3 separate regions of the Homo sapiens genome follow, and regions 1 and 2 are each linked to region 3. Evidence: promoter capture Hi-C in 16 types of primary human blood cells and fetal thymus (Javierre and others, 2016). All regions are on one chromosome and are shown on one strand. The core of a region is centred on a gene start or on the middle of the fragment in contact, and the rest is flanking DNA. Distances in the headings are between cores, read along the strand shown. Region 1 overlaps STPG1 (sperm tail PG-rich repeat containing 1). Region 2 overlaps STPG1 (sperm tail PG-rich repeat containing 1). Region 3 holds the start of MYOM3 (myomesin 3).

Region 1 (3,077 bases), core at 40-2,539, 290 kb after region 3:
ACAAGATGATAGACTTAAACTTATACACCAATAATCACATTAAATGTAAATAATCTAAATATCCCAATTAAAAAACAGAGATTCTCAGATTGGATAAGAAAGAAAGACCCAACTATATGTTACCTTGGAGAAACATACTTGAAATATAAACTCAGAAATAAGTTAAAAGTAAAATAATGGAAAAAGATTTACTATGCTAACACTAATCAAAAGATAGTTAGATATTATCAGATAAAGTAGATTTCAGAGCAAAAAATATTACCTGCAATAAAGAGGGTCATTTCATAATGGGGTCATTATGAGCAGTCAGCTCCTCAAGAGAACATAACAGTCCTAAATGCTGATGTACCCAATAAAAAGAGATTGAAAATATAAGAAGCAGAAACTGATAAAACTGCGAGAAAAAATAGAAAATTTCACAATTATAGTCAGAGATCTCAAAACATCTCCCTCGATAATTTAAACAAGTAGATAGATCAGTAAAGATATATGAAACCTGAACAAAACTATTACCTAACCTGACCTAATTGGCATTTATAGAACACTCCACCTATCAATTCCATACAAGCTGTCCCAGAAAACTGAAGAGGAAAAGACATTTCCAAACTCATTCAATGAGGCAACCACTACCTGATACCAAAACTATATGGCATCATTACAAGAGGGAAAAAGATCACTAGAGGTCAGCAGCCCTCATAAACATAAATACATAAATCCTTAGAAAAATTTTAGCGAATCAAACCAGACAATATATAAAAAGATAATACATCGTGACCAACCCCAGTAATGCAAAAATAGTTTAATATTTAAAAATCAATATAATTCATCATATTAACGGACTAAAAAAGAAAAACCATACGAGTATCTCAACAGATTAAAAAAATCATATACCTGTAACATGTACTCTTTTTGTCTGGCTTCTTTCACTCAGCATAATTACTATGAGATTCATCTCTGTTGCTGATATATCAATACTCCATTGCTTTTTATTGTTGAGTAATATTCCATTGTATAAAAACATGATGTTTATTCACTGGTGATGTAAATTTGAGTTGTCGCCAGTTTGGGGGCATTACAAATAAAACTGCTATGAGCATTTTATCTACAAGTCTTTAAATGGACATAAGCTTTCATTTTGCGGGGTAAATGCCTAGGAGTGGAATGACTAGATCATATGTTTAACTTTTTAAAAAACTGTCAAACTATTTTTCATAGTCGTTGTACTTTTGCACATCCCCACTATTAGCGTATGAAAATTTCTATGACTTCACATTCTTATCAGCAATGGGAAGTCTTTTTAATCTCAGGCATCCCATTAGGTATGTAATGGTATCTCATTATGGTTTTAATTTGCATTTCCCTAATGACTAATGATGCTAAGCAGTCCTTCATATGCTATTTTCCCTCTGTATATCTTTTTTTTGGTGAAGTAACTGTTTAGTAGATACAGAAAAAGCTTTTCATAAGATCTAATATCCTTTGATGATTAAAAGAAAAACTCTAGCAAACTAGGAATAGGAGCAAACTTTGTTAATCTGATAAAAGGTGTCTATAACAAAAGCCTATAGCAAACAGGATACCAAATTGTGAAATATTAAAGGCTTTCCCTTGAGACAGGGAGTGAAACTAGTACAACTGCTATTATCCTTCTATTCAACGTTGTACTGAAGGTCTCTAGCCAATACAAACGCCTACATAAAATATATTAAAAATACATAAAATATATGGATGAGAAAGGAAGAAATAAAGTTGTCATTTTCACAGATTACAAGATTGTGTATGGGGAAATTGCAAAATAATCTGTGGACACCCTATAAGAGGTAATAGTTGGATTTAGTGAGGTCACCAGAATCAAGGTCAATATACAAAAATCAATTAATTTTTTTGTACAGCAGCAACAAACAATTTAAAATAAAATTTAAAATTACCATTTATAACAGCATAAAAATCAAATGCCTACAATAGATATAATGAAGATATGCAAGACTTCTACATAGAAAACTCCAAAACATTGAGAACAATTTAAGGTAACTTAAATAAAAGGATCTATACATGGATTAGAGAAGTTAATATTTATTGTAAAGATGTAAATTATCCTTAAATTGATTTCTAGAATCAATGCAATCCAAATTAAAATGAGAGTAGAGTTTTTTTAAGACATTAATAAGCTGATTGTAAAATTTGTATAGCTACCCAGATTTGATCATCGCACATTATATTCTTGTATCAAAATATCATGTGTGCACCATAAATATGTACAACTATTATGTATCCATAAAAATTAAAAATAAAAAAGTAAAATAAATTTATATGGAAATGCACTGGGGTCAAGAATAGCCAGCATAAACAAAGAAGTACAAAGTTGAAGGGCTTATGCTACTAAAGAGTTATTATAAAGTTACAGTAATTAGGACAGTATGATATTTGAACAGAATAAATAATCAAGAAGCAGAGCTGCATATGCCTGGACACTTGATTTATGACAAAGGTAGCAACAGCAATACAGAGTAGTAGAGAATGAGCAGCCTTTCAATAAATGGTGCTGGGTCAACATGGAAAACAACAGACTCGGGCATCTTCCTCAATCAAAAACAATTTCAAGTGAATTGTAGATCTAGATGTAAAAGGTAAAATAATAGAGTTTCTAGAAGAAACTATCTTGGGATGGGCAAAGATTTCTTAAGTATTAATAAAATAGACATGTACACTAAACATAAAGAGACTGATAAATTGGGCTATATTAAAATCAAGAGTTTCTGTGTCTTAGCACATTGTTAAGAGAGTGAAAAGGAAAGTCCCAGGATAAGGGATGACATTTACCTACAGCTAACAAATGACTTGTTTCTAGAATAAAGAATCCCTATAAATAAGAAAAGGACAGAATGGTTTAAAGAACTCCTATAAATAAAAAAAAGAAAAGACAAGACAAGACCCAGCAGAAGAAAATGGGCAAAAAAGTTGAACAGTCACTTCTCCAAAGAGAATATCCAAAAGGCCAGTCAACATGAAAAAGTGCTCAATCTCATTGATCTCAGGCAATGCAAATTAAAACTATTATGAGCTTAAAATGTTGGTGA
Region 2 (2,975 bases), core at 285-2,784, 270 kb after region 3:
CCTCAAAGTTGACCACAGTTTGTAATTATTTTGTTTGTTTACCTGTTCTTTTCTGAATTCCCCACTGGAATCTAAGCTGTATCACCAGCCTGGCACAGAGGAGCAACAGGATCCACAGAGGGAAGCCTGTCAGGGCTGGAATGAGGTGACTTTGATCATTCCCCAGCTTTCCACCCCAGCCATCCACTGGTGCCCACTGAAGTGCAAATGATGCCTTCAAGCTGGGTAACTGTGCAAGTCCCTTCACCTCTCTGAGCCTTAGCTTTCTCTTCTTTATACTGGGAACAAGATAATCCACTTTATGGATTCACTTGTGAGTATTAAATATGATTAATACATAACTCTTAGACCAGCACTTAGTACATGAGAAGTGCTTCATCCTCCTCCTCCTCCTCCTCATCATTTTCAGGCTCTGATTATGCCGAGGGAAGACTGCCTGGAGTTGGACTGCCCAGTATAGTAGCCACAGGTTGCATGTGGCTATTGGCCCTGGAAACGTGGCTGGCCCAAATTAAAATGTGCTGGAAGAATAAAACACATACTGGATTTTAAAGACTCACTACAAGGAAAATAGTCTTCCTCAAATATAAAATTCATAACTTTTATATTGATTAGTGTTGAAATGATAATATTTTGGATCTGTTGGGTAAACTATATTACTCAAATTAACTTCATCTGTCCCTTTTTCTTTTTAGATGTGGCTACTAGAAAATCTTAAATGAGGCCGGGCACGGTGGCTCCCGCCTGTAATCCCAGCACTTTGGGAGGCCGAGGCAGGTGGATCACGAGATCAGGAGATTGAGACCATCCTGGCTAACCCAGTGAAACCCCATCTCTACTAAAAATACAAAAAATTAGCCGGGTGTGGTGGCGGGTGCCTGTAGTCCCAGCAACTTGGGAGGCTGAGGCAGGAGAATGGTGTGAACCCAGGAGGTGGAGCCTGCAGATTGCACCACTGCTCTCCAGCCTGGGCAACAGAGCAAGACTCCGTCTCAAAAAAAAGCTTGAATCCATCATAGAAGGTGGGCAGGATTTTTGTAGTCAGAAAAATAATTATTAATTATCAATATTATGAAGGAAAAAAGGAAATGGTATAATAAATGTATAAAACCAAAATAGTTTGGAAAATGGCATAACATTAATGTCTTAAGTACAATTCATATCTTGCGCACTTCAGAGTGCTTTCACGTTCGTTGCCTTATGGTAACCCTGTAGGGCAAGTAGAATTGATTCCATTGTACAGTGGGGGCTGTGACTTACTTACTTGCTTGTATTTAAGGGTAAGTAAATACCCTTCATGTACTAACAAAGACAGCCCTACCAATCTCCATGTATTGTGTGGTCCTTGTGTGACTGGTGCTGTCCTGGGCATGAAGCATACATTATCTCATTTAATATTTGCATTAACACGATGAGGTGAACATACATCACCATTTTACAGATCAGTAAACTAAGCCCTGGAAAGGTTAAGGGACTTGCCGAAGGCCGCACAGTTAGAAAGTGGCAACAGATGAGAGCTAAACCAAACCTTCCTGAGTCCATCTCTTAACCATCCATGCCATTCTGCGTCAGTGAATACAAAGCGATCATAATTGGCACAGCAGGGCACGACTGTTAAAACACCTATTTTCTGATATGAAAGTTTATTTTCCCTAGAAGAACCTAAAAAGTAAATCATTAGTGGCTGCAGACAAAGTGGTAAATAATACACCCATTGTTACAGATGAGAAAACTACGTCCCAGAAAGGTTACAGGACAAGAGTAATTAGAATATGTGTTTCTCAGGGCAGTGGCCTCCCCACAGCTTGATACTGGCCTCCATGTTGCCCATCCTGATCTCTGGGGTCTGCAAATTCCCTGTAAGAGTCTTGTACAGCCTTAGGCACCCATTGGGTAGTCAACAAATGCTAACTGGCTTGACAACTGCATTAAAATACGATGTCCCCAAGATCCCCTCTTCCTTTTATTTTAGTAAACCATTAATTCGATCTGTATTTAGCAAGCATAGGCAGAGTTCTTACATTGTAATAGTTTGGTGCAGGAGTTTCAAACTTGAGAGCTTTCATAAAGCTTGGCAACTGGAACATGCTGGAACACGAATTACTAAAGTCTCTCTTGGAAATAAAATCCGATGGGATAGTGTATGCATTCGCTGCAGGGTATTTAGAAATGATGGTGTCCAATCGGGCGCACTGTAAGGAGACAACCAAAGGAATCAGCATTGTCACATAATATTGTGGATCTGAAGGACAGATGTCAAAAAGATGGTGACCAGCACAAGGTCTAAATGCATTTTATAAAAGGCGAAACTCTGGCAGTAACAATGATAAACTGACCTCAGGCTTTGAGGATCTTCCCTTGGAAAACGCAAGTTCAGACCTGTACTCGCTTCTGTAAACTAACTCAAATTATTCATCTTCTGTTTGGGACTTGGCAAAAATGATTTTGCCATAAATGCATTTCCACCCAATCCTGTTCCAGGCCACTTACCCTTGACTCATCAGCTGTTGGGTAATTTATGTGATAGGAAGCTTTAGATGCTCTTCTCAGCCTAGGCTTTTCTTCTGAGTAAAATCTCACATCTTGTTTCTAAGGTTAAATGATCTGAACTGCCTAAGCAACGAGTTTGCTTCAAACAAAGCTCCAGGGGGCTTGTTGTCCATCTGTGCCTCCTACCCTCCACCAAATTACTGTTTTCATCAAATCCTACAGTATTTTCACGGTTTAACAGAACCAATCCCACCCTTTCAGGAAGCCACGATAAATTATCTTCAGTTAAAAAACAAACAGAATCAATGTTTGTCAAAAGAACAGGGACAAAAGTCACAGAAACTCAGTGATAACATCACTTTCCCCTAAGATAGCATGGCAAGTATTGGAGTCTGATAAAACAAAAAATTTCCCACTATTTAATGGTCAAAAGCTTGAGAACATTGCCCTGGATTTTCTCACTTGATAGGAATCAATAACTACAC
Region 3 (3,088 bases), core at 92-2,591:
CCCTGCTCATTCTGCTCTTTCTTCCTCATGGCCCAGGAGGAGAGCTGCTGGGTACCACCCTAGGTGGAGCAAGGACCCCCCACTCTGCCCCAGCTTTCCTGGGACACGATGGCCCTGGCTCCAGTGGCTGAGAGTTAACATTCCCTGGCACCAGCCACTGGCTCCCTTCCCCTGGATGCTCTGTTCCCGATTAGCACAGCAGGCAGGGGCCTGGCGCTCGTCCCTGACCTCGGGGCCTCCAGCAACCAGACCCCTGGCTTTAGCGGATGAGCTACCAATTCTTTTTAAAGCACTGACTGATGCGTGGTATTAAGCAGGGACAAGTTTGCGGCCTCACTGCCCTTTCCCAAAGGACCAGGGTGCCTCTTCCCGGAACACTGTGTGTGCCTGCGTGGAGGGGAAACTGCCCCCGCTTCCCTCTCTTGGGGTGCAAAAATCTGGGCCAGAGGTCCCACTGCGTGGCCTTCCCTATTCCCCTCTGCTTTCCTCCCAAGCCTCCATCTGCCGAGGAGGCCTCTCCCCTTCTTCAGGAGGGAAAGAGGAATGCACAGCAGTTGAGCCAAGACCCCTCCAGGAGCTGCGATGGGGGCGGATGGTGGCTGGGAGCAGAGACACATCCTGCGGGCGGCGGGTGGCACAGGCTGGGACGTGTTCTTAGCCAGTGGCTCCACCAGCTTCCGCGAGGCCGAATCCTGCCCTTGCCAGTCATGAGCTGAGGCAACTCCTTTCCCGTCTGGGCCTCGGTTTCCTGTCAGGCACTGGATGAAATCCCTTCCAGCTCTAAGATTTGGGATCCGAGGGCTCGCTCTCTTTCCCTGCCTGTGGGGTTGGCCAAGCCGGGCTCAGCCAGCTCCGCTCTAAGTTCGTGGAACTTGCCAGCTTAGCCTGGCTCCCGCTTATCGCTGCTCCATCACAGGAAAGACTCCAGTTCCCAGGGCAGCCCCCACTCTTTTTTTTTTTTTTGCAACTTTCACATCACAGACAGCTCAGCTCTCAGAAGACCCAGGGCCACACAGAACAGTGGGATGGGGCAGGGGTTTCTGGAATCCCCTCCCATTTTCACTTGGGTGCTGCCTCAGCACAAATTTCCCAGGCTCCTTTCACAACACACAACACACATACACACAAACACACACACGTGCACACACACACACACATGCACCCACAGATATCACTCCCCAGTGGCTGACTCTTAGGAGGCATCCCTCCCCCACCCTGATTTCTGGGGGTGACTCACAGAAGCAGTGTGCCCACTTAGGAGTCTCTGGGGAGAAGATTCCTGAGGCCGAGAGGGTCCTTGTTCTCTTCTTGCCCTCGGCTCAGCGGGCACCGGGAGAAGAATGCGATCCCGGAGACTGCACCGTCTTAAATATAGCAGCACTGAGACAGTACAATGACAATGGATGAGAACTATGGCATCGGGGACAGGGGGCCAAGGGGAGGGGCCATTCCGTGTCTCCAGCCTGCTGGGCAGCAGCGACAGGTGGAGCTGTCCGCCGCGTCCCCCCACACTGCTCCTCCTCTCAGCTGGGTCCTTTCTGCCCAACCCAAGCCCCTGTTAAAATGGAAAGGAGGGAACGGCTCAGGCATGGTCGTATGGAGGGCAGATCCCGTGCGGCGTTCTCAGCTGTCGGGAGTTCTGATCTGAATTCTGCCCCGGCTGACTGGGTGCCCTGGGGAAGGCGCTCAGCTTCCCTGAACTGACTGCCTTCTGAAAAACGGAGACAGTGAGACTGGGCACCTGGACTTCATGAAGACGGTGGAAGGAATATGACCTAAAAGTGAGTGTTTCGTGCTCAGAAGTTGTCACTGGCTAAAACAGCAATGTGTGGCTCCTGGTCCCTCCACCACTCCGGTAGTTACTACACGGCCCCCGCCCTGACCACAGTCATGTGTGTGTGGTGTGGTGCAGGCAGGAGGAGCTGGGGAGCCACCTACTGCTTCACTGTGCAAACTGCTCAGGCTGCCAGAGTGTCCCCTGAAGGGCCTTCTTATAGGGTAAACGCACCTGACAGGGATAACTGAAGCACGCTCCAAGAATGACCCTGTGTGGAAGACCTGAATATGTGTTCCGAGCTAAGGAATCTGGGGAGTAGCCAACCCGTTTCTTACCTACGATGAATATCTGAGCCCCCGTCCCGTCCCTTCTGGTGGAACGCTGGCCATACAGGGGATTGAGGCCCTGAGTTTTGGGTTAAATGAAGATTGCCAGGTGGAGGTCATTAGGGGATGGTGTAAAGTGAAAATGCTCTATAAACTGCATGCTGTTTGCAAGGGGCTGAGGTTTTCCTGCCCAGTCGGCCGCCACTGGTATGTTGTCCAGCCCGCCGCCCCTGGACCATTTCTGTATGTAAGGCGGTTCTCCTGTCCAGTTCATCACCAGTGGACTCTCTCTCCTGTAGGCAAGCCCCTAACAAACCCCCACGTTCCTTCCTTTCCTTCCTTCCCTTCCTTCTCTCCCTTTCTTTTTCTTTCTTTCTTTCTTTCTTTCTTTCTTTCTTTCTTTCTTTCTTTCTTTCTTTCTTTCTTTCTTTCTTTCTTTCTTCTTTCTCTTTCCTTCCTTCCTTCCTTCTTTCCTTCTTTCCCTCCCCCCCTCCTTCCTTCCTTCCTTCCTTCTCTCTCTCTTTCTTTCTTTCTTTCTTTCCTTCTTTCCTTCTTTCTTTCCTTCTTGAGTCAGAGTCTCACTTTGTTGTCCAGGCTGGAGTGCAGTGGCATGATCTCAGCTCACTGCAACCTCCGCCTCCTGAAACCCCCATGTTCCGTTTGCTGGCTATGGATCTTTTCTTTGGCCTCTCAAACCTGGTGCCTTCCCTACTGAGGTTAATAGGTGTTCGGCACCACACCTCTTCCCACCCTTTGCCCTCTCCTGCCATTCCCTCAGTCTCAATTCTTTCCCCCTCACATTCATTGGCACCTACCCTATGCCAGACCCTAACCTACAGGGGAAGTCAGGCACTTACGACAGGAGGTGATCAGGAAGGTGCACCTGGGTCGAGTCTCAGAGGATGAGCCGGTGAGGGGAAGGCTGTACCGGCCCCTAGCCAGAGAGCACAGCTTCCCTCCCTCACCCCTTCCTGCGACCTCAGGT

The links. Contacts are between HindIII fragments. The CHiCAGO score rates a contact against its expected background, and 5 or more counts as called.
Region 1: a fragment that was not itself captured here is called in contact with the fragment with the promoter of MYOM3 in region 3 in 1 of 17 cell types (M0 macrophages); the score reaches 6.0 in M0 macrophages.
Region 2: a contact is called between a fragment that was not itself captured here and the fragment with the promoter of MYOM3 in region 3, in 1 of 17 cell types (M0 macrophages). The highest score is 5.6, in M0 macrophages.

Annotation. Positions count from the first base shown.
Region 1 is chr1:24,396,809-24,399,885 of GRCh38, forward strand. The region is part of intron 2 of STPG1 (sperm tail PG-rich repeat containing 1); the gene reads right to left. Among named protein-coding and RNA genes, the nearest start is that of STPG1, 15 kb to the right of the region's middle. The HindIII fragment of the contact is 329 bases long and covers 1,126-1,454 here.
Region 2 is chr1:24,377,632-24,380,606 of GRCh38, forward strand. STPG1 (sperm tail PG-rich repeat containing 1) reads right to left here. Exons shown (of 9, transcript NM_001199013.2): 5 at 2,022-2,192. Among named protein-coding and RNA genes, the nearest start is that of STPG1, 35 kb to the right of the region's middle. The HindIII fragment of the contact is 1,067 bases long and covers 1,002-2,068 here.
Region 3 is chr1:24,110,794-24,113,881 of GRCh38, forward strand. MYOM3 (myomesin 3) reads right to left here and starts at 1,342. Exons shown (of 37, transcript NM_152372.4): 1 at 1,238-1,342. RefSeq lists an enhancer at 1,544-2,052. The HindIII fragment of the contact is 9,473 bases long and covers 1-3,088 here.